Regions from separate parts of the Homo sapiens genome. Here all the other regions are linked to region 1. Evidence: promoter capture Hi-C in 16 types of primary human blood cells and fetal thymus (Javierre and others, 2016). All regions are on one chromosome and are shown on one strand. The core of a region is centred on a gene start or on the middle of the fragment in contact, and the rest is flanking DNA. Distances in the headings are between cores, read along the strand shown.

Evidence for each region. Contacts are between HindIII fragments. The CHiCAGO score rates a contact against its expected background, and 5 or more counts as called.
Region 2: a contact is called between the fragment with the promoter of SLC2A4 here and the fragment with the promoter of FXR2 in region 1, in 1 of 17 cell types (fetal thymus). The highest score is 5.5, in fetal thymus.
Region 3: a contact is called between a fragment that was not itself captured here and the fragment with the promoter of FXR2 in region 1, in 2 of 17 cell types (naive CD4 T cells and erythroblasts). The highest score is 7.3, in naive CD4 T cells.
Region 4: a contact is called between a fragment that was not itself captured here and the fragment with the promoter of FXR2 in region 1, in 1 of 17 cell types (total CD8 T cells). The highest score is 6.2, in total CD8 T cells.
Region 5: the fragment with the promoter of DVL2 here is called in contact with the fragment with the promoter of FXR2 in region 1 in 5 of 17 cell types (fetal thymus, neutrophils, total B cells and 2 more); the score reaches 7.5 in fetal thymus.
Region 6: a contact is called between the fragment with the promoter of ALOX15B here and the fragment with the promoter of FXR2 in region 1, in 1 of 17 cell types (activated CD4 T cells). The highest score is 5.1, in activated CD4 T cells.
Region 7: the fragment with the promoter of CTDNEP1 here is called in contact with the fragment with the promoter of FXR2 in region 1 in 6 of 17 cell types (naive B cells, fetal thymus, total CD8 T cells and 3 more); the score reaches 9.2 in naive B cells.

The regions. Positions count from the first base shown.
Region 1 is chr17:7,613,088-7,616,265 of GRCh38, reverse strand. FXR2 (FMR1 autosomal homolog 2) reads left to right here and starts at 1,369. Exons shown (of 17, transcript NM_004860.4): 1 at 1,369-1,814. The coding sequence starts at 1,734. It also overlaps a transcript of SHBG not described here. RefSeq lists silencers at 1,125-1,174, 1,285-1,814. The HindIII fragment of the contact is 2,190 bases long and covers 397-2,586 here.
Region 2 is chr17:7,280,468-7,283,560 of GRCh38, reverse strand. It overlaps SLC2A4 (solute carrier family 2 member 4), which reads right to left and starts at 1,843. Exons shown (of 11, transcript NM_001042.3): 1 at 1,594-1,843; 2 at 200-316; 3 at 1-88. The coding sequence starts at 1,626. RefSeq lists an enhancer at 610-1,597 and a silencer at 1,730-1,879. The HindIII fragment of the contact is 20,977 bases long and covers 1-3,093 here.
Region 3 is chr17:8,119,969-8,123,205 of GRCh38, reverse strand. HES7 (hes family bHLH transcription factor 7) reads left to right here. Exons shown (of 4, transcript NM_001165967.2): 2 at 80-175; 3 at 776-863; 4 at 1,169-2,614. The coding sequence ends at 1,635. TRL-TAG1-1 (tRNA-Leu (anticodon TAG) 1-1) reads left to right here and starts at 2,811; the gene lies at 2,811-2,892. TRR-TCT2-1 (tRNA-Arg (anticodon TCT) 2-1) reads right to left here and starts at 2,281; the gene lies at 2,194-2,281. RefSeq lists silencers at 1,026-1,135, 1,356-1,815, 2,756-2,965. The HindIII fragment of the contact is 3,122 bases long and covers 258-3,237 here.
Region 4 is chr17:8,056,449-8,059,895 of GRCh38, reverse strand. No RefSeq gene overlaps it. Among named protein-coding and RNA genes, the nearest start is that of ALOX15B, 19 kb to the right of the region's middle. RefSeq lists enhancers at 2,149-2,218, 1,702-2,219. The HindIII fragment of the contact is 2,579 bases long and covers 166-2,744 here.
Region 5 is chr17:7,232,598-7,236,022 of GRCh38, reverse strand. DVL2 (dishevelled segment polarity protein 2) reads left to right here and starts at 1,506. Exons shown (of 15, transcript NM_004422.3): 1 at 1,506-1,954. The coding sequence starts at 1,761. PHF23 (PHD finger protein 23) reads left to right here. Exons shown (of 5, transcript NM_024297.3): 4 at 1-93; 5 at 183-985. The coding sequence ends at 397. RefSeq lists an enhancer at 1,309-1,358 and a silencer at 1,469-1,768. The HindIII fragment of the contact is 14,867 bases long and covers 1-3,425 here.
Region 6 is chr17:8,037,614-8,040,739 of GRCh38, reverse strand. ALOX15B (arachidonate 15-lipoxygenase type B) reads right to left here and starts at 1,681. Exons shown (of 14, transcript NM_001141.3): 1 at 1,438-1,681; 2 at 1,135-1,354; 3 at 757-838. The coding sequence starts at 1,584. The HindIII fragment of the contact is 10,323 bases long and covers 1-2,885 here.
Region 7 is chr17:7,249,964-7,252,983 of GRCh38, reverse strand. CTDNEP1 (CTD nuclear envelope phosphatase 1) reads left to right here and starts at 1,250. Exons shown (of 8, transcript NM_001143775.2): 1 at 1,250-1,789. The coding sequence starts at 1,688. It overlaps ELP5 (elongator acetyltransferase complex subunit 5), which reads right to left and starts at 769. Exons shown (of 8, transcript NM_203414.3): 1 at 388-769; 2 at 154-214; 3 at 1-66. The coding sequence starts at 433. RefSeq lists silencers at 113-352, 1,123-1,332, 1,403-1,522 and enhancers at 383-602, 471-1,059, 1,060-1,647. The HindIII fragment of the contact is 9,547 bases long and covers 1-3,020 here.

The sequences.
Region 1 (3,178 bases), core at 120-2,619:
GATATCCACTCACTGCAACCTCCACCTTCCTAGGTTCAAGCGATTCTCCTGCCTCAGCCTCCTGAGTAGCTGGGACTCCTTCCGAGTAGCTGGAACTACCACGGCTAATTTTTTGTATTTTAGTAGAGACGAGGTTTCACCATGTTGGCCAGAATGGTCTCCATCTCCTGACCTCGTGATCCGCCCGCCCGTGATCTCGGCCTCCCAAAGTGCTGGGATTACAGGCCTGAGCCACCGCGCCCGTCCTAATTTTTGTATTTTTAGTAGAAACAGGGTTTCGCCCTGTTGAGGCTGGTGTCAAACTTTTGGGCTCAAGTGATCCACCGCCTGAGCCTCCTAAAGTGCTGGGATTACAGGAGTGAGCCACAGCGCCCGTCTGAAACTATTCTTAAAGCTTTCTTTCTATTCTTTCTTTCTTTTTTTTTTTTTTTTGAGACTGAGTCTTGCTCTGTCGCCCAGGCTGGAGTGCAATGGTGCGATCTTGGCTCACTGCAACTTCTGCCTCCCAGGTTCAAGGTAGTCTCCTGCCTCAGCCTCCCGAGTATCTGGGATTACAGGCGCGTGTCACCACGCCCGGCTAATTTTTGTATTTTATTAGATGCGGGGTGGGGGGGGGGGTGGGTTTCACCATTTTGGCCACGCTGGTCTCGAACCCCTGACCTCAGGTGATCCGAGGACCTCAGGTGATCCACCTGCCTCGGCCTCCCAGAGCGCTGGGATTACAGGCGTGAGCCACCGCGCCCGGCCAAAACTTTCATTGTATCACAATCTCTTCAAGGTAAGAGCCATGACTGTTAAATCTACTACAGTAGAGAGTTACAGATTCTTAAAATATCGGCGATGCATACGCGAAGAGGGTAAAGCTCAGCGCGTGCGCACCAAGCACCTTTTTCCTTGCGGCGACTCCTCTTCTTTTTTTTTTCTTTTTGGAGCGTGCGCACCAAGAAAGACAAAGGTGGGGAAAGTGACCAAGCAGTCGTTCAGGCGCATGCCCATCCCTAACTTGTCCAAGCCCGGTGGGGCCAGCGGCGGCGGAGTGGGTGTGGCCTGAGCGCTGTGTGACTGTGCGGACGCCGCCCAATCGGACTGAGCGAGCCCGGCCCCTCCCTCCCCCTGATTGGTTGGTTCTCAGTGTTGTGGGGCGGGGAAAGGAAGAGACGGGGTGGCTGGGCGGTGGAGCGGTGAAGAAAGAAGGCTAATCTTGTTCTGCGCAAGCGCTAGCAAGCGACCAGGAGGGGGAGTGAGAGAGTGAAAGGGAATGTGGAAGCCCCGATGCGCTAGCTGGCGCTAGCTGGGGCTCTAACCTTGACGCCTGCGCGGTGGCCCTCGGGGCCCCGCGCGCAGCGGGCGGGTGCCCGGTGCGCCTGCGCAGTAGGCGGCGGTGGCAGGGGGAGGTGGAGGCTGTGGAGCGGCAGCGGCAGCAGCGGGTCCCGGGACTGAGGCAGCAGCGGGGGCGGCGGCGGGCGGAAGCTGAGGTGACGAAGGCAGCGGCGGCGGCGGCCGTTTCCCTCACGGTGGCGGAGACCAAGGCGGCGGCGGCGGACGGGGAGCGGCCCGGCCCCGGCCCCCTGCTCGTTGGCTGTGGCAGGGCCGCCGTGGGGCCGGCCCGGCTCCCGCCCCCCGCGGCTCCCCCTCCGGCTCCTCCTCCGGGGAGACGCCGGGGGCCTGGCCCGGCCCGCACTCAGACTGCTGCTGCAGCCGCCGCCGGGGGAGTCGGAGGCGGTGGCGGCGCCATGGGCGGCCTGGCCTCTGGGGGGGATGTGGAGCCGGGACTGCCCGTCGAGGTGCGCGGCTCCAACGGGGCCTTCTACAAGGTGAGACGGCGCGCCGACTGGGGACGCCGGTCCTTAGCCCCCTCCCCTGGCCGGAGCAGGAACGCGTGGGGCGGGATCGAGCTTCTGGAGCTGAGTCCTGGCCCTTAGAATCTTGGACCCTTGCTCCAACCCGCAGCCTTCCCTGGGAGACCGCTTAGAGTGAACCCTGTTCCTCTTATTTTTGACCCCTCTAAGGCACCTGCACCTGCTTCTACCCCCATCTCCGGGAGAATGAACTTCAGGCCATTATTGTCCCTGGCTTGGCGCTCCCCGCTCCGCAGGAGAGACCCCTTTACCCAGCTTCTAATTGACTGTGTCCGTTGTCTGGTGGAAGACATACCTTAGACCTTAATCACATCTTCCCCACGATCCAAGCACATGGAGAATTGTCTTTCTTCCACACGGTCCCTTTGGGAAGGCCCTCTGTCCCGTAAAAGATCCTTTCATCTTCCTCAGAGAGGCCTCTGCCTACTGGCTCTGGAACACTCACCCCACTTTCATCTTATATTCCGGTTCCCAAGCCAAGGAGAAATGGTCAGATCCATTTACGACGTTTGGCATCTTTGACCTCAGGAACCCTGGGTTGGATCAGTCAAGTTGCTTCCCAGCCAGCCATAAGGTGGCATCTTTCGCAAGTCTCTCTCCCCACCACACCTTGATCTCAAGACCCACTGCTCTACCATTCTACTCAGGAATGGATTTGAGGTCTCACTTAGACCTCAGATACCTTCAGGTCATTCATATAGTTTCTTCGTCTTGAGGCATGTAAGCTTCATAGTCATAATCTCTAAAAGGATCTCTGAAAGGAAGCTTATGAGGTTCCCTTCTGTTTATCTTAAGATTTCCACTTCTTGAAGACTCTTGGCCAACTATCCCAGTTCGGGAATCTGACAACCTTTTTTGGAAGACGGGATCATCTTTCAAAGACCCTTCCTTATTTCACCTCCCCCTTTGCCCAGGATTTGGTTCCTTAGAACTCCTTATAATACCACCTTCCTTATCTGCTCTGAATCTATTTTCTAGGACATTTTTTTCCCATTTAGATTAAGCCAGAGAGAGCCCTTTCTTGCCTCCCAAGAGTTTTTCTTTGTGTGACTGTTGGTATTCTGAACCTCTTGGATTTGATGCCTGGAATTGTCCTAGAGACTCTCCTGATTTCTGTCTCATTCTTTGATTTCACCCTGGGGAGCTGGGGAAGAGATACCTTCCCATGGCATCACTTGTTAAGAGTGGATCCCCCTTCCCCCTTTCCTTCAGTTCCCCTCAGGCCTTTTTCCCCCACTGTAGTCCTCTCTAGTTTCTCATGCCCTTGGAAATGTCTTTCTTTGACTCCTTCTCTAAGTCATATTTTTCTATAACTGCAG
Region 2 (3,093 bases), core at 594-3,093, 330 kb after region 1:
GGGTGGTGAGGGTGCCTGGAGGGATGGAGCTGGGTCCCTCAGGCCCCTGCCTCCCCAGCCACGTCTCATTGTAGCTCTGTTCAATCACCTGGGGGACAGCAGAGGACAGATTTCCTGCAGACCGTCCCCTTTCCACCACCCCCGAGACACCTGTCCTCCTCGTTTGGGTACCCCCACCCTGCCAGCTGCAGGCCCTCACCTTCTGAGGGGCATTGATGACCCCAATGTTGTACCCAAACTGCAGGGAGCCAAGCACCGCAGAGAACACAGCAAGGACCAGGGTCCCAGTCACTCGCTGCTGAGGGGGTTCCCCATCCTGAACAGGCAGACACAAAGACACAGCATGTCACATGGAACCATGATTTTTTTCCTTCCGCTAGGGGCCCGGGCCCAGCTGGAGCCTGAAGATACTGGGCTCCACCCAACATGTTGGGTGAGGGAAACTGGGCCATATTAGGAATTGCACAAAGATCTCAATGTAAACAGGAGCTGAACTGCAACCTGGGCATAAAGGAGAAACTGGATGTTTGGGTCCATAAGGCAGAGAAATGTTTGAGAACTTGTCTCAAAATTCTTCTGTGACCTTGAGACAGGCTTGGCCTTAAGAGCTCAGATTTGTGTGACCTTGGCCAAGTCACTTCCCTGCCCCGAACCTGAGTGTCCTCTGTGAGATGGGGGTGATGTTGCCTGCCTTGCCTACCTATCTGTGAGAGTGTTGTGAAAATCAACATCACATGTTAACAATATCCTTGACAGTGCTGGTTTCATAAATTAACACGTGCATTATTATCATCAGCCACTGTCCTCTTCCCTCCCCTCTGGGGGTTCTGTCAGCCAGCTCCAGGAGGCCCCCAACAGGACCAAGAAGTGCTGTTCCAGAAAGGACATCCCGGTCATCTAGGGGTGGCCTTCTCTATCTACGTCGTGGCCTGCCCTCCCCCTCTAACCTCCGTGCAGGGAGGGCCGTCCAGGGGTTCTGCCTGGGAGAGCCATGCCCAGGGGAGGAGGGCAGGAAGGTAGTGTGAGGGGCGGTGGCAGTGGTGGCCGCTCGCTGGCGGCACAGACTGTCTCCAAGCGGAAACCTGAGCTGGAGGAGGGGGGGCTGACAGTCCCCTCTGCCCCTCCACCAACCATGGGGCCAAGGGAAAGTTCAGCGTCCTGGAGGGCGGCCAGGAGTGGGGGTGGGGGCCCACGGAGAGCCTCCGGTCCTCGAAACACTGCCCGTGAGCGAAGACGGACGGACAGCTCCCGGAGGGCAAGACCCGCCTGGATCTGCTTTCCCGAGTCGGATCGAGGGCAGGGTGTCCCCGATTCCGGAGCGCCGCGCCGCCTACTAGGCAAGGGGGTGAACCCTGGCTCGCAGAATCCACTTGCTGCCTGTGCCCCGAAAGGCCCTCCAGACCCACTCTGCCTTTTGGTAGGATTGGAATCTCACAGTCACGGGTTGTCCAGGCCGGGTATAAATAGCCAGCCCCCTACCTTCACCCCCTGCGCCTGCGCAGGAACCACCCCCAGCTGACCCCAACCGCGACCCCAGCCCAAGAAAAGCGGGACCCGTGCCCCCCCGCCCCGCCCCCTCATGATGAATCCTACTTCGGAGCCTATCTGTTGGAAGCCCGACGGCATCTCGTCTTAGAAGAGCTGGACGCGCAGGGGCGGCGAAGATGAAAGAACCGATCCTGGAGTCTCTGACTCCGGCCTGGAGCGCAGAACCTGCGGAGGCCGCGGGGGTCCCGGAGTGACGTGCGAGGGCGGGCCCGATGGGACCCACAGCCACAAGCCAAGGACCCGGAGAGCAGTGGGGCTCCCGCGGATCTGGTGGAGCGGGGCTGGGGGAAAAGACGCGAGAAGCCCCCGCCACCTCGCTCCTGCCCCCGCGGGCCACGCCCTTCACAGCACCCATTGGCCAGGAGCCCGCACACCCCAGAAGGCCACGCCCCCTCCGCCTGGGGTTTAGAGTTTGGCTGGAGTTGGTGGGGCGGGCCAATGAGGCCACGCCCCTCCGCGTGGCTGGCGAGACACGCCTCTCGGGTTCCCGCCAGCCTCCGACTGGGAAGTTTTGAGAAAAGAGTCCCTGGAACAAAAGGCCCCGCCCACCCACGTGTTAGGACTCCGCCCACCAGCTAGGATCCCGGGCTGCAGAAGCATCTTAAACTCTGCGGGTCTGGACAGTGGGGTCTGAGAGGAGAGGACGGGCCAGGTGTACTTGCCCCGGGGAAACTCCAGCGGCCTGAGACGGCTCGCGAGCCGGCGCGCGGGTTGGGAGAGGAGCAATGCCCCAAAGTAACCCGGGGCTGCTATTTTTAGCTCCCACGTTGGGAGCCTCCAAATGTCAGGTCCCGGGCGTCCCGGCCTGTCCCAGGCGGGGGCGGAGAGACAGGGAGATGACGCCTTAAAGAGTCCGCGACATGCTTCCCACGCGAGTGTGGCCCTGGGGGCCAGGAAATTCCGTTCCCACAACGGGTCTGGTGGCCGGGCTGCTTGGTCCTGTCTTTCAGCGCCTCCCTGCTCCGGGCACTGTCTATCCCGCCCTTCCCCTACACACATTCCCCAGGTTGGTTCCTGGAGCCGGTCCGAGGGACAAGTGGTCACAACCGACCACACCACCAGCCCTGAGGTCTCTGAGCCTCTGAGGTCTCTGAGCATATGCTGGCCGCGTGAACGACACGCTCTCTGGAGGCTGCTCCGGGTTTGGATCCTCGGCCAAATTCTGCCAGGCAGAAAGTGCGCGACCTAGGGTCGGCGTGTGGGGAGAGAGAAGCCGAAATACCCAGAGCGTGGAGAGTGTCTGGCTCAGAAAACGGGCTTCGGAAGCGCAGGGTTGTGCTGCCACCTGGAGGGCGAGCGAGGAGCCGCAGTGGATTGCACTTGGAATCTCAACCCACTATTTCTCGCCTTTCCGCCACCATAGGGCTTCAGTGACATCTGACCCAGGCCCTTCTCTGGAGCTGCAGATCCAGGTGTTCGTTACCGCCCGGATGTGGCAGCTCTAGTGATCAGCATGTCCAAACCTGCTCCTCCTCCTAACTTCCTTATTTCAATGAATTACCCGCCCAGTCACCCCTATGGTAGAAGTCAGGCTCGATTCCTCCT
Region 3 (3,237 bases), core at 569-3,068, 510 kb before region 1:
AGCGGCGGGATCCGACGCCGGGGCGGCCGCACTGAGTCTCGGTCTGGTCGGCCCGCTCTCCTTTTCTCGCTGGTCGCAGATGCTCAAGCCGCTTGTGGAGAAGCGGCGCCGGGACCGCATCAACCGCAGCCTGGAAGAGCTGAGGCTGCTGCTGCTGGAGCGGACCCGGGACCAGGTCAGTCCCTCCGCTAGCCCTAGGTCCCCAAGCTTCCCGTTTCCGCGTCCCAGGGCTTCCCACTGGGGTGGGGACACAAGCTTGGTTGGCAACCCTGGCCCCAAGGCATCCTCACCCGAGTCCCGCCTTTGGAATTCCATCCCAGACCCCCACTCGCTCTCAGAACGCGATCTTCTTCGCCACCCCTCGGGTCTGTAAGTTTCACGCCTGGTTCTGTAAATTTCGCTCCCGGGGTCGGTCAGTTTCACCCTTTGGGTCTCTAAGTGTCCGGTTCCCCCTCCCCCACAGCCAGCCTCTGATGAGCCAGCCTCTGTTATGTCGGGTGGTTAATTTCATTCCCTGGGTTGCGGTTTCAAATCTCCTCCTCACGCGTTGGGCATTGGTTCCAACCCCTAGGATTGGACAGTTTCGTCTCAGGGTGGGCCAGGACTTTCCTTGGTCATCTCCACTCCGCATTTGGTCGCGCGTTCTGTGGGCAGTGCGCAAATGCGATCGGGGGCACCACCAGCTCCCGCATCCGTCCCTCCCTTCTTCCCCCTGCCACTTTCCCCCTTTCTCCCCACCCCTTTCTGTCTCTGCGCCCTCCCCTCCCGTCTGTAGAACCTCCGGAACCCGAAGCTGGAGAAAGCGGAGATATTGGAGTTCGCCGTGGGCTACTTGAGGGAGCGAAGCCGGGTGGAGCCCCCGGGTACAGCGCGGGGGTGGGGCAGCGGAGGGAGGGAGGGGGGACGCCAGGAGGCTCCGGCCGGGGCAGAGTGGGCGGGCCCTGCGGTGGATGGTGGGCTTGGGGAGTGGCCGGTTCTGCTCCGAGGCGAGGTTAATAACACCCGCGCGTGTCTGTCTCTGTGTCTCCCTCATTTTCTCCCTCTTTCCGTCCATCTGGCTTCCTGTCTCTGTGCGCCTGTCCGGCCTTGGTATCTCTGCGCCCCGCCCCTTCCCTCACCCCTGCCGGGCCCCTGCCCTGCCCACCTGTGCTCCCGCCGGCCGCACCAGCCGCCGCGGCTCCAGGGGTTCCCCGGTCCCCAGTCCAGGACGCCGAGGCGCTCGCCAGCTGCTACTTGTCCGGTTTCCGCGAGTGCCTGCTTCGCTTGGCGGCCTTCGCGCACGACGCCAGCCCGGCCGCCCGCGCCCAGCTCTTCTCCGCGCTGCACGGCTATCTGCGCCCCAAACCGCCCCGGCCCAAGCCGGTAGATCCGAGGCCTCCAGCGCCGCGCCCATCCCTGGACCCCGCCGCACCGGCCCTTGGCCCTGCGCTGCACCAGCGCCCCCCAGTGCACCAGGGCCACCCTAGCCCGCGCTGCGCATGGTCCCCATCCCTCTGCTCCCCGCGCGCCGGGGATTCTGGCGCGCCGGCGCCCCTCACCGGACTGCTGCCGCCGCCACCGCCGCCTCACAGACAAGACGGGGCGCCCAAGGCCCCGCTGCCCCCGCCGCCCGCTTTCTGGAGACCTTGGCCCTGAGCCTTGGGGGGTGGTGGGGGCGGGGTCTAGGGGTGGGGTAGAGACTCCAGCCCGAGGGCAGCAGAGGGACCCGGGCGTCCGGGCGAGCAGGTGTTGGGGAGGGCAGTGGGGCGCGCGGGCTCAGCGCGCGGGTGAGATGTGGTCTATATTAGAGTATCTATATAAATATATATTTCCCTGGTTCCTGTCCCTTTTCCCTGCCCCAACTTCTCCCTTGCGTCTAGGATTGTACTCTCTCTGCCCCTCAGCCCAGTCCCAGTCCCTTCCCGAGTCCCTAGTGCATGGAATAAAGTGGTTATTAAATCCCCGTGTGTCCCCGAGCCAGGGGCCTGCCTTTATCTCGACGTCCACGCCCACTTTCCCTTCCCTTCTGTCTCCCACCCTCAGTCCTGCTCTCCATGGCCCAAGCCCCGGGGCAGACAGGTAAGTAAAGAAGAGAGCAGAGCGGGAACTGAGATCGAAATTGAAACCAGGTGGAAAGAGAGAGATAGGGTAGGGGGAGAAGGGATGGGGGCCTTTAAGAAAAAAACGGATAAAAAGGAAAAATTGAAATAAAATCGACTCTGGTGGGATTCGAACCCACAACCTTTGAATTGCTCTATTCGTCACTAGAAGTCCAATGCGCTATCCATTGCGCCACAGAGCCACCCGACGAACGGCGGCGTCTTGTAGCTTACGGGTACTAGAGTGGGAATGGGGCAGGGTTGGGGAGCGGGGCTAAGGGACTTGGGCGGGACATGCCAGGAGGGCGCGGTTTGGATCTCAGAGGCCAAGCCAGGTAGAGGTAGCGGGCGCAAAGCATGTTAGCCAGGTGAGAGAGAGGGCGCACATGGGTCGAAAAAACAGGGAGGGAGAGCAACCGAAAATGGCTGAGCGAGCGAGTGCAGAGCTCCGGCTGCCCGCTTGGGGGGTGTTTCCGGCTCAGGCGCTCCCCACTCCCAGATATAGTCCCACCCAAATAAACTAGTTTTGTTGTAAATTTCTGTGTGTTTTTGTCTCTTCTCGTTTATCTGTTCTGCCATCTGCTGCTATGCGGTCCACAGTCTCGATGGTTCTTCATTTCCAGTCTAAAAGATGTGGAAAAGGAGACGAATCAATTTGGCACTCTTAAGATTTGCCCCATTCCTTACTTCTAGTCTCTTAGGAGGACAACGGGGACAGTAAGTTTTCGTGCAGGTAGCGTGGCCGAGCGGTCTAAGGCGCTGGATTTAGGCTCCAGTCTCTTCGGAGGCGTGGGTTCGAATCCCACCGCTGCCAGGCTGGAGTTTTTCTGGTGGATTACGCACCTGCTACAGTTCTGTTAACAGTTCTGTGAGGTTACACCTATTTACATGCAGAAAGTAATTTTACGAATTCCCCTGGTAATGGTTTCACCATCATCTTCCGTGTTTGGTCTTCCAGAGAGATCATAGGCCTGCATCCATCCCAGAAGCTAAGACCTGATGGTAACTGCTGAAGCAATATTTCGTTTCTTCATAACATCTCTATTATTTCGTTTCTTCATAACATCTCTATTTTAACATGTTTTCAAATGTTAGCTCAACTTCCAACATATTTAAATAATTTATTGTACGTTCTCTTAACACTGTGTTATAGGACTCA
Region 4 (3,447 bases), core at 206-2,705, 440 kb before region 1:
TCAGATGCTGTGCCTACTCCAATCAAGCCCATAGAAGCCTTTTGTCGGGGCCACGCTTTTGGCCACTGATTTAGAGCTATAATTGAAATATTAGCACCTGTGTCTACCAGTCCTTCAAACTGTTTTCCCTGAATCATTGTGCACACAGGTCTGTTTTTAGAAGCTTGATTTACTCAATAGGCTGCTTTTCCTTCACTGTCAGTACTGCCAAAACCACTTTCTCTTTTTACTGTACTTTTTTCTACTATTACATAAGGTAATAACAACAGCTGAGCAATTCTATCTCCTGGGTTTGCACTCCAAGGAATACTGGAACTAATAACCAATTGAATTTCTCCCACAAAATCTGAATCAATCAGCCCAGTATGAATCTGAACTCCTTTTAAGTTTAGACTAGATGTTCCTAAAACAAGTCCAACTGTCCATCAGGTAAAGGGCCAAATACTCCAGTGGGGACTTTTTGAGGGGATTTCCCTGGAAGCAGAGAGATAGCTTTTGGGAAACATAAATCTAAGCCTGTACTCCCTGCTGTAGCTGGCGCCAATTGTGTTACTGTGGTGGTTGGGCAAGAGACAATGATGGTGGTTGGACTAGAGGCAATGACCGACTGAGGGACCAACTGCTGGAGTGAGAATGCCCCCGTTTGGAGCGGGGCCTGAGGCTGGCCCCTCTTCCTGTTTCCCGACTGCGGTTGTAACGGTTGGCCATTTTTGTCAAATTTGAAGTGACACTGATTAGCCCAATGTTTACCCTTCTGGCACCTGGGACATAAGCCAGGTGGTTCTTTTATTTGATTATATCTTGCCTGTTTGTTCGATTTGTTCTTACGTTCCTTTTTTGTGTGTCCAAATTGCCCACAATTGTAACAATTGCCTGAAAAGTTTTTAATTGGACCTCCCACTTTTAACTCTGTCGTGGCTTGAACCATTATCATAGCCTTATGCATGATTCCACCAACTCCATTACATGCCCTGATATATTCATTAATCACATCAACTCCCACCGGAACCTTTCCTTTCACTGGGTGAATAGCTGACTGGCATTCAGGGTTAGTATTCTCACAAGCCAATAATTCTACAATCACCTTCCTGGCACTTTCTTTCTTTCTTTCTTTTTTTTTTTTTTTTTTTGAGGCGGAGTTTCGCTCTTGTTACCCAGGCTGGAGTGCAGTGGCGTGATCTCGGCTCACCGCAACCTCCGCCTCCTGGGTTCAAGCAATTCTCCTGCCTCAGCCTCCTGAGTAGCTGGGATTACAGACATGTGCCATCACGCCCGGCTAATTTTTATATTTTTAGTAGAGACGGGGTTTCTCCATGTTGGTCAGGCTGGTCTCCAACTCCCGACCTCAGGTGATCCGCCCACCTCGGCCTCCCAAAGTGCTGGGATTACAGGCATGAGCCACCGCACCCGGCCTTCCTGGCACTTTCATCAGTGAGAGCCTTCTGTGCTGCGTCTTGAAGGCGAGCAATGAAATCAGGATATGGTTCCTTTGAGCCTTGTCTAATAGAATTAAAAGACTGATAAGTAGTTCCCAGATCCTGAATTTTCTCCCATGCCCTCAAACAGCAATTGCGAATTTGTTCAATGGCATCATCTCGAAGTCCTGATGGTTGTTTACAGTTCCCCATTGACCCCCTATTCCTAGAAGTTGTTCAAATGTAATGGCAATAGCAGGATTAGCAGCACGGTTTTTTCGATCTTGATTTTGAGCCTCGTCGGTCCACCAAGTCTTAAACTGAAGAAATTGGGAGGGCGAAAGTGTAACTTTCGTTAAAATCTCCCAATCACACGGAGTCAATAGCTTATTCTGAGCCACAGATTGCAATAGCGATCGGATGAAAGGCGAATTGGGACCATACTGACCAACAGCTGCTTTAAGATCTTTGAGCAGCTTAAAAGAAAATGGTTCCCATACCGCTTGATGGGCTCCACCTTGCTGTCGTGGGGGTTGCAAAACTACTGCAAACTGCCAGGCATCAAGATCTCCGGCTAATCTAGCCTGCCGAATAGTAAACTGTAATGGCGATTCATTAACATTAGATGGCAGTGCAGCCTTATGTTGTACTGGTGCTACACCATGCGCTCGTGGTTCCTGAGGCCACAATTCATTCATTCGTGAAACAGGGCAAATTTGAGATTCAGACCTCCAAGGCTCCAAGCTACATTGCTTTATTGGAGGCGGCCACTCCGGATGATCCCAATGAGGAGCCGACTGCTCCTCAAGGCCCTTCTTTGTTTTAAACATCTTGGCATATATGGCTTCTCTATTTTAGGAGCAGCTGAAGGTCCCACGTGCTCCTCAAAAGAAATTAACTCATCTCCAGGTTTGTCTGTATTTTCCTCAAAATCTTCTTCACTATCCTCTCCTCCTTCAGCAGCATCACCACCTTCCTCTGCAGAAATTCTTTCTGCTGGAGGATAAGCCTCATTTTCCGATTGAAACGGTTCCGAGGCTGCTTTAACTATAGCCCAGTTTGACCAGGCTGTTAGGGGGATAAATTTTCCTTCCTTACAAACTTGTTTTAAGGCAATTCCCACCTGTTCCCAATCTTTGAAGTCCATGGTACCATGTTCAGGAAACCAAGGACGATATTGCTCTACTGTTGGAAACAGAGTAATCAAATTTTCTGTGCTAGCCTTAATTCCTGCCCTCTTTAAGAGGAGCTTAATAAAATGTAAATATGCAGAATGTTTACTTTTGGATTGTCCCATGGTGTCCCTGGAATGCTCCGAGTGCACAAGCTTACCGCAAGGCCGACCACACGTTCTCGGGAGTTCCTGGACAGACCGTTCTTCACAACGACCACGCTCAGGTGTAACTTCACCTGGGTTCAAGGAGACCGTGTTGGGTGCCAAAGATGTAGGGGAACCTGCCTGATACACCACCCGCAGGCTCTCCCCTTCCCGGTGGAGACGAGGGAATGAGAAAAGAAATAAAGACAAAGACACAAAGTTTAAGAGTTAACAAAAGTGGGTCCAAGGATCCATCGCAACGTGGAGATTGCAAAGGCCAGGAGCTCTGGGTTCCACTGATATTTATTGAGTACAGTTCCTTTGATCCTATAGGCTGAGGGTGGGCTGATGGTGAGGTGATCATTGGGTGAGCATAGGGAGAGGTGGCGGAGCCTGCTGTGTCGGTCATTAGCCAGTTAATACTATTTACTGTTCCACTACGTAAGCTAATACTCTATGTTTAACTTACAGATAATCATCAGAGTCCAACTAAGCGGCTAATAGAACAGAACAGGACGTGAAAGCAAACAGCCCTTCAAACCCACAGGCCTGTACATCAAAGGAGTGGTCAACGCCTGAGCACCGTCAGCAGAGCAGCTGCTTTGCCTCTGGGAACATGCGGGAGATAGGAGGCTTCCTCCTTAACCCTACTGCAGAGGACTTCTCCTCTTTTACCAGCAGCCTCCTGCAGTACCCTCCCGGGTAATGGAGCAG
Region 5 (3,425 bases), core at 257-2,756, 380 kb after region 1:
AGGTGGGCAGCACTGAAACAAGCCAAGATGGAGATGCCAGCTCCAGTGAAGGCGAGATGCGGGTCATGGACGAGGACATCATGGTAGAATCAGGTGAGAGGTTCGGGCTGGGGCGAGGGGTTTGAGGGTGTTGTGGATCCAACAGCTCAGGCAGAATACCAAACAAACCTTTTTTTCCCCAGGTGATGACTCATGGGATCTGATCACATGTTACTGTCGAAAGCCCTTTGCAGGGCGGCCCATGATTGAGTGCAGCCTGTGTGGGACGTGGATCCACCTCTCCTGTGCTAAGATTAAGAAGACCAACGTCCCCGACTTCTTTTATTGCCAGAAATGCAAGGAACTGAGGCCAGAGGCCCGGCGGTTAGGGGGGCCTCCCAAATCTGGAGAGCCCTGATGGCACCAACTTTAGCCTGGAACTTCCAAATGACAACATGATTTGGGAACTGAGCCTCAGGGTCCTCAGCCTATCCCCTGGAGCTTGGATACTGTCTGCACTTCAAGGCAGGAATTCTCAAGGGAGACTTGTTTGAAAATGAGTGTCTCACTTTCCCACCCTATCCTTCCTCCCCACTCTGTGGACTTGAAATTGAATCCATTACGGTTGGGGATGGGAGGCTGTCTGTGTCCCGACACATAATCTCTGTCTCTTGGACCTGCCACCATCACTTTCTGGGTCAGGATTGGAATTGGGATGGAATGGGACAGTTGTCTATAAAACTCTAGTGTAAATATTAGCACTCCCCTCCCTCATCTTTTCTTCTATTTCACTCCCCATTTATTTTCTTCTACACCGGTTGTATTTTTAATTTTGGACTTCCCCTATTGGGCATGGCAGCTCAAAGGTGGAGTACTAGAGCCTGGCCAAGTGAGGAAGGAAAGCAGAAAGGTGACGATTCTCACTCACCTCTTTTGTTTTTAATAATATCGGCCGCTGTTTGTACAGACAGCCTGCGTGTTGTAAATAAAGCAGAGTGGGCTCTTTTGTGTTTATAGCCCTCACTGTCCTGCTCGGGAGGGAGGCTTTGGTGGCTGAAGACTAGCTGGAGGTGGGGCTGAAACCCACGTCTCAAAGTCCAATCTGAAGATATCACAGCACTGGGCCTTTCCCACCCCAAGACAAGTAAGCCACCTTAGAGCTTTCATTGTATTTGGCCCTCCCCACTCGAGTCTAGGAACCCCCACAGTCCCCACCTTCACTCCCTGCACGCACACTCCTGCGGGTCAGAGTTGCTTCGTGCTCCATCGTGGGTGGGGTAAAGCGGGGTGGGAGCCGATGGTCCGTTTCCTGAAGGCACAGGCCAGCTTAGCCTGGGTGCTCAGAGGACCTCGGCTGGGGTACACGTTTGGGGGCTGGGAGACCGTTGCTGAAGGCAGCGATCATGTGGCGGGGGCACTAGGCGGAGTCAGACGGTCACGTGATTGGGAGGGGATCACGTGACGGAGGGCGGCTGAGGAGCGCGGGGTGGCTGCCTTTAAGTCACGTGACATGAGGAGAGGTGGGCGGGTACCTGGAGGAAGCTCGCGGCGTCGGTGGCGGTGGCGCGCGGCGGCCGCTGAGACCGGGGCTTTGAGTCGCACCCCGCGGCCCGCCCCCCGCCGCCACCCTCGCAGATCCGTGCTTTTTCCCCTTTGCTTCTCTCCCGTACTGGGTCAGTCCTGTCCGCGCTCGCGCGTCGGTTTGCGGGTGTGCGCAGGCGCGGCAGGGGCCATTAGCCCTTTGGGTGGGCGGTGGAGCCCGGGAGCGCGCGGGCGAGACCATGGCGGGTAGCAGCACTGGGGGCGGTGGGGTTGGGGAGACGAAGGTGATTTACCACCTGGATGAGGAAGAGACTCCCTACCTGGTGAAGATCCCTGTCCCCGCCGAGCGCATCACCCTCGGCGATTTCAAGAGCGTCCTGCAGCGGCCCGCGGGCGCCAAGTACTTTTTCAAGTCTATGGATCAGGATTTCGGGTGAGCGCAAGGCCTAGATAGGACCGGCGGGGGCTTTGCTAGAGTGGATTGGGCGACATGGAGGGGCACACGTCTACTTTGGGCCACACTGGGATTTTCTGGCCTATGGTGGAGCAGATTGTACTATGCTGAGGTAGGTTGACTATCCCAGGATGGACAAGGTTATGCTTGGATAGATTGAGGCACACGGACAGACTAGGATATCCTAAACCAGATTAGACAAGATTAGGCTTTACTGGAATAGGTGGGGGCATACTGGTTTATGTTGGAGTATTCTAGTCTGTACTGAGTAAATTGATCCATTGTCTGGTTGTTTAGTACGTTCTCAGGAGTCCTGTAACGCCTGTAATCCCAGCACTTTGGGAGGCTGAGGCGGGCGGATCACGAGGTCAGGAGATCGAGGCCATCCTGGCTAACACGGTGAAACCCCATCTCTACTAACTAAAAATACAAAAAATTAGCCGGGCGTGGGGGCACGCGCCTGTAGTCCCAGCTACTTGGGTGGCTGAAGCAGGGAGAATCTCTTGAACCTGGGAGGCGGAGGTTGCAGTGAGCCGAGATCGCGCCACTGCACTCCAGCCTGGGCGACAGTGCGAGACTCCGTCTCAGAAAAAAAACAAAAAACACTTGGGCCATTATGGACTCTACTGGGTTGTATTGGTTAATCCTGGTTTCTCTTGGGGCAAGACTTGGTTTTATTGGAGCACTCGGTATAGGGGCAGACAAGGCTGTTGGGGCCTGTGCTAGCACAGGCAGCCGTATTGGGATGTTCCAATCTAGACTGGTGCAGACAGCTGCGTGTGGGGGCATTGTAGGCTGTGCTAGAATAGATTGGGCTATCCTAGGGTAATTTGGGACATTCAGGGCTATCTTGGACTAGATTGGCGTGTAAATAATGCAGAGAAAGCCCTTTTGTGTTTATGGTCTTTGGGGCTGAGCCTTCTGGGTCCTCAACCTCTGCTTTTTTTTTTTTTTTTTTTTGAGACAGTCTCGCTCTGTCGCCCAGGCTGGAGTGCAGTGGCGCATTCTCAGCTCACTGCAAGCTCTGCCTCCCGGGTCCACGCCATTCTCCTGCCTCAGCCTCCCAAGTAGCTGGGACTACAGGCGTCCGCCACCACACCCGGCTAATTTTTTGTATTTTTTAGTAGAGACGGGGTTTCACCGTTTTAGCCAGACTGGTCTCTGACTTCTGACCTCGTGATTCGCCCGCCTCAGCCTCCCAAAGTGCTGGGATTACAGGCGTGAGCCACCGCGCCCGGCCCAACCTCTGCTTTTTTGAAGGCAGGCTGGATTAAGTTGGGATAGCATGGGTTTTAGAAGAACTGAACAAACTGGACTCTAGCTAGAAAGATTGTTTGACATGGGGATGCTGATACTATCTTGGGAGTTATCTTGGCTTTAAGGCAAGGTTTTTCTAGTTGTCAGCAATGTAATCTTGGACAATTTATTTAAATTTTGTGTCTTGATCTCA
Region 6 (3,126 bases), core at 432-2,931, 420 kb before region 1:
ACAACAAGCCGATGCATGAAAAAGTCCCAGGGCAAGGAAGACACCAGCAAAGGTAAGGCATTTAAAGCAGTTTCTTTCTCTTTCTTTTCTTTCTTTCTTTCTTTCTTTCTTTCTTTCTTTCTTTCTTTCTTTCTTTCTCTCTCTTTCTTTCTCTCTTTCCTTCCTTTTCCTTCCTTCCTTTTTTTTTTTCTTTTTTTGAGATGGAGTTTTGCTCTGTCCCCCATGCTGGAGTGCAATGGCGTGATCGGCTCACTGCAACCTCCACCACCCGGGTTCAAGCTATTCTTCTGCCTCAGCCTCCCATGTAGCTGAGAATACAGGTGCCCGCCACCCTACCCAGCTGATTTTTGTATTTTTAGTAGAGATGGGGTTTCGCCCTGTTGGCCAGGCTGGTCTCGAACTCCCGACCTCCAGTGATCCGCCTCCCTCAGCCTCCCAAAGTGCTGAGATTACAGGTGTGAGCCACCACGGCACCTGGCCCTAGAGCAGTGTTTTTCAAACATCAGTGGCCACCAGAGTCATCTGGAAGGCTTGTCAAAACAAAAATTCCCACTCTACACCCTCAGTGTCGTAGTAGGTTGGAGGTGGCCTGAGAATTTGCATTTCTAATACGTTCCTGTAGACGCTGCTGATCCCAGGAGCAGCTTTGATAGGAGAGGTGGAGGCAGGGGCTTTTAATCTCTGTCATGACCAGGACACTCAAGCTGCCCCTCATCGTTTGGGCACACCCTCCCCCATCAGTAACCCCCTCCTCACTGGTACATCTCCTGCCGGGCCTGAAGCTCCTCCTGGCGCTGTTGCTGGAGCACAGGGTGGTGGTCTGCCCAGGACACCTTGGCTGTGGGAGAAGGGGAGTAGGTTGGGGTGGGGAGAGAAACTCACCATCACTACCACCAGCCACACAGTCTCCACGATTGCCACCCTCTACCAGGTCCCCTCCTCCCATAAGTACAGTTTCTCCTACACCAGGCTGCTACCTCCCGCTCCCCAAGGCTCCGCCATTCCCTCTCCTCTGCCCGCTACTCTGTGGCCACACCAGCTCACCTCTCCATTTCACCTGCCCTTCTCCCCAACCCCCAGTCCCCTACCCCTTCCTGTGCTCCCCCTGCAGCCCCAGCCCGGCCCGCCCCTCACCTGTACCCTCCTGCAGCACCAGGGTCCCCGCCCCCTCCAGCCACTGGTAGCAGGGGAAGAGGAGGTGGCCGCCCCGCGGCGGTGTCAGCTGGAACCAGCGGCAGAACCAGGCATCCGGGGCCAGGGGCCCCAGCAGGGGCAGCACTGGGGGCGCCTTGTGCACGCGCAGCAGCAGCACTCGGCCTACGTCCTCCGGGAGCGTCACCTGGAAGTCCTCCTCCTGAGGGGAGGTTAAGTATGCGTCAGGCCGGACCCTCCTGCTCGCCCCCTTCACCTCCACCCCATCCACTCCCACGCACTCACAGCGCCCGCAGTGAACTCCTTGCCGAGATTGTCCAGGGGCAGTGGGGGGCTCTCTCCCCGGGTCCCCACGATGCTGACAGACACTTTGTCCCATGTGCCAGCCCCGAAGGCTTCTCCGGTGGACACCCTGACCCTGAACTCGGCCATGCTGCCAGCCTAAGTCCAGCTCTCTACGGCGCACAGGGCTGCAGAGCGGGGCTCCCCCCTGGGACACGCCTGGTTATTGCCCCTGGTTATTGCCACTGACTCCAAGCCCAGTGGACTCCTCTAAAAAGCACGTCCGTTTCAGGGCGGGGAGGGGCGGGGCGGAGAGGCTGGAACACGCAACTAAAGTGGGGGTGGGCGGGGGATTGGCAGCGCTGGGAACAGGAGGGACTAAGAATACCCTGAGGTTTGGGGAACGGGGCCTTTCAGTGGTGGTGCCAGGCCAGAGAGCCTAGAGTTGGGACCCAGTTGGGGTGGGGGTAGATTTGTGCCCACCACGTCTGTTTGTTTTCCTTCTTAGCCTTAGAAGTCTATGCAAAAATATCACCCCATTTCCCACAACTCTTCTTGGGCCTGCGTTCATTATTTTTAAAATTTATTTATTTATTTATTTTTGAGACAGAGGCTTGCTCTGTCGCCAGGCTGGAGTGCAGCAGCATGATCTCGGCTCACTGGAACCTCCTCCTCCTGGGTTCAAGTGATTCTCCTACCTCAGCCTCCCCAGTAGCTGAGACAACAGGCGAGTGCCACCATGCCCAGCTAATTTTTGTATTTTAGTAGAGACGGGGTTCCACCATGTAGGCCAGGATGATCTTGATCTCTTGACCTCATGATCCGCCTGCCTCGGCCTCCCAAAGTGCTGGGATTACAGGCGTGAGCCACCGCGCCCAGCCTACATTCATTATTTTATTTCATTCAATAATTAATGTTCAGAACTACCTCTGTGCCAGGTGCTATGCTCACTGCTATTGATAAAGGCCCAGGCAAGACCTAGTGCTTGCTCTCATGGAGATTAAAAATCAAGTGTGAGGCCAGGCACAGTTGCTGGCCAACATGGTGAAACCCCATCTCTACTAAAAATACAAAAAAATTAGCCAAGCGTGGTGGCGGGCGCCTGTAGTCCCAGCTACTCAGGAGGCTGAGGCAGGAGAATAGCTTGAACCCGGAAGGCGGAGGTTTCAGTGAGGTGAAGTTGTGCCATTGCACTCCAGCATGGGCGACAGAGCAAATCTCGGTCTAAAAAAAAAAAATCAAGTGTGAGAGAAAATAAGTAAACCAACACATAATTTCAGATGATAATAAGTGCAATGAAGGAAATGAAACAGACTAATGTGAAGGAGTGAGAAGCAGAGGTGGGAAGGGAGGCGTTCAGAGCCTCAGAGGAGGTGAAAGGATCTGTCTGGGGAACAGAGTTTTGTGCAGAGGAAACTGTTCCTGAAGAGGCCCTGTGGTTAGGAAAAGCTTGGCTTGTTGGAGGAGGGAAAGGCAAGAGTGCAGTGAGGGAGGGATTTGGGGGAGAGATGCCAAGGGGAAGTTATGGATTTGGGCTTTGGGGGAATAACATAACAGATTTGGGGTTTTCGGTCTGGAGATGCTAAGTTTGAGATGGCCATTAGACATCCAAGTGGAGAACCCACGTCTGGGCATAGAGCTCAGGACTGCAGGTGTGCATCTTTGAGTCACAAGCACACAGGTACATCTATA
Region 7 (3,020 bases), core at 1-2,500, 360 kb after region 1:
GAGTCAAAACCTTCACGAAACTCTTCCTCGCTCACTTCACAGCCCAGGATATGCACTTGCTCCCCACTAAGGCAGAGATGAGAAGGGATTGTCAAAGAGTGGGCACAGGTGCCCTATCCAGGGTAGGCCGGGGAGACACTGTGGGATACTCACCACAGTGCAGATTTCTTGACAAGCGCCTTCAAGAGACTGCGCCCCTCCCACTCCACGGAATCTGCAGAGCGAGGGACGGATAAAGGGTATGAGAGCGCTGGGATTACCGCCTTCGCGAACCCGTCGCGATTTCCACACCTAGCCTGTGACCCCTGGCCCTTCCTGCCCACTTCCGTCCCCTCAGCCAGGCCCGAACCGCACCCCCCGCCCCGCCACCGTGCCTCTGGCTCTCACCCCGAAGCAGCACCAGGCCGCCCAAGGCCAACAGCGAGTCCAACATCTCCAACTCGCGTCCGGTCCCTGCTCTGGCGCCCTCTGATGGCGTCATGACCCAGTGTCCTTCCTCCTCGGGGTGAAACGGGCCGAGCACTCGGGCGTCCTCCCACCATTAAGACCTAACATAGTCTGGAATGAGAGGTGATTATGTTCAATATTCCCAGGGGGGCGCTCACGCGGAGGGCGCCCCTCCCCGAGCCCTGGCGCACAGTCGTACGGACAACGACCCCGTCTACATTTTCACTGTGACCGGGGCGGGAAGAGCAGTTGGGGCAGTTGTCAGTGGGAGGGGGAGGAGGACCCACAAGCCCCCCGCGAGGGCCCTAAGCGCGGGCCAAGTGACGTCACTCTCCCCGCCCACGCAGTTTGAGGCGGGGCCTGCTTCGCCTCAGGCCCCGCCCCGCGGCCACCTTCTGCGCGTGCGCAATACTGCAGCCTCGCTTGGAGTGCTTTTGGCTTTCCTTATACCTACCCGCCATAGACCGCGCAGGAGGAACTTAGTCCCGGTGAAGCGAATACACGTCACCACCGGAAGTAGTGTCAAAGGGGAAGAGGAGGGGGAAAGACAGGAAGAGGGAGTCCTTTGGACGGTAAAATGGCGCCTGTCAGAGTGGGAAACCCAGCTGCAGAGGCTGCAGCCCCGGTCCCCAGCGGCTAAAGGACCCCCGAGCTCGGGGAGGGGGAGGCCGCTCCGGCCCAGCGCTCTGCGCCCTCCGGCTCCCCCTCCCCCTCCTTCCCTGCTCCTTCGCTCTGCAGGCCCGTTCTCCGCTGCCGCGGCCCTTTGCGCGCCGCTGCCCCCGCCCTCCCCGTTCCTGCGAGCAGCCCCCTAGCGCGCCTGCGCAGCGGGCCACTCTCTGCTTTCCCCCCCTCCCCTTCCCTTTTCCCTTCCTCCCTTTTCCCTAGCCCCCTCCCCCACTGCCCCCTCCCCCAATTATCCTTCCCCTTCCCTCCAGGTCTCGGAGGACCCCATCCTAGCCCTACCTGTCTCGGCCCGCAACCTCCCCGAAGCCGTCGGTGCCACTCCCAGCCCATGTGGGCCCCCGCGGGCTGCCCACGCCTGTCCCCCAGCTCCCCGTTCCGCTGGGCTTTACCCTCGCCAGGGGTGGCTTTCTGAGCCGCCCGCTCCGTGCCCCTCTCTGCAGCCTCTCCTGCCACTCGGGGCCCCCGTTCCCCCTCCCGGCGGCGGGGGGCTGCCCCCGGGGGGCTGGCGGAGCTGGGCCGCGGGGGCCCCGGGGCCGGCGGTGCCGGGGTCATCGGGATGATGCGGACGCAGTGTCTGCTGGGGCTGCGCACGTTCGTGGCCTTCGCCGCCAAGCTCTGGAGCTTCTTCATTTACCTTCTGCGGAGGCAGATCCGCACGGTGAGCCAGGGTGGGCGCTGGCGGTGTTGGGGACGTCTGGCGGTGTTGGGGACATCTGTCCGTGGTGCTCAGGGGTTTTCGGAGTGTCGGGCCTCTGTTTGGGCCTAGGAAGGGAATCCTGGCTGGGGCTTTTCTCGCCAGAGAATTGGGCACCCTAAGCGGGGCGAGGTGGGAGACCCTTGTAATAGAACCTTGCCCTTGGGGGTTTTGATGGGGCTAGATGGGACAGGATTTGGCAACTCTTGGGGGCTAAGGTGGTGGGTGGGGCGCTCTTTAAGAAAGCTGGAGTTGTTGCTAAAGAAACCAAGAGGCGGGGAACACCTGTTTGATGACAGCCGGATCTGTGGATGTGGGCTTGGGAAAGACCCTATTTGGAACCTCGGTGTGTGTTTGGTCCTATAACAAGGAAGAGACAGACTTGTGTGTCAAGGGTGGAGGTGGGTGGGAGGGCATACGTTACAAACAAGGACGGGAACTTGGGAAAGCCCTGGGTGTGAAGGAGAAACGCCTGCGGTTCCCATTAAGAGAATTCCTCCAAAAAGGCTGTGAAAATTTATTTCATAGTGTGAGTGTAGGTATCTGGATTTATTGAAGACTAAAGCAGATGCTTTTACGATGGGCCTCTTTAATTGTGGGAGGGAGTTCAAGGTGGGTGCTGTGCCCACCATTGAAGTTTGGGTGTCCCTGTCAGAGGACAGCGCTGGGCAGTTGTAGGGCTTGAAAATGAGGACGTTTGCTTCTCCAGGAGAGCCTAGCATTCTGAGGGAAACTGTCCGGATGGACCCAAGCATCTCTGGGTCCCCTCTCCCTTAGCTTTTCTCCAAGGTCAGAGGTCCTTCAGCTAACAGCACTTTAAATGAATGTGCTCTTGTGGTCTCACCACCACCAGGGAGAATCCTCGGAAGGAGTCTGGGGAGAATTTAGTAAGCGGAGACACAGGTTCTGGGTCTGTACTGTGGTCTGTACCCCTTAGCATACCTCAATACAATTTGAAAGAATAAACCCAGGTTGGGGTGACCTGGGGTCCAGAGAATTTCCAGAAAGCCCTCAGTGGTAGTGGTGGTTGATTTAACTGATTTGGGAGAATGGGTCTGGCCTTGGGTTCATTCTGTCCTTTACCAGTCTGCTTCCACTTCCTGATTTAGGGCGCGAACAGTACAGGATGGTTGTGGCTGTAGGCAGCAGCGCTATTCCCCCGAGACAAGAGCTAGGAGCCAAGAAAAATTTAGGG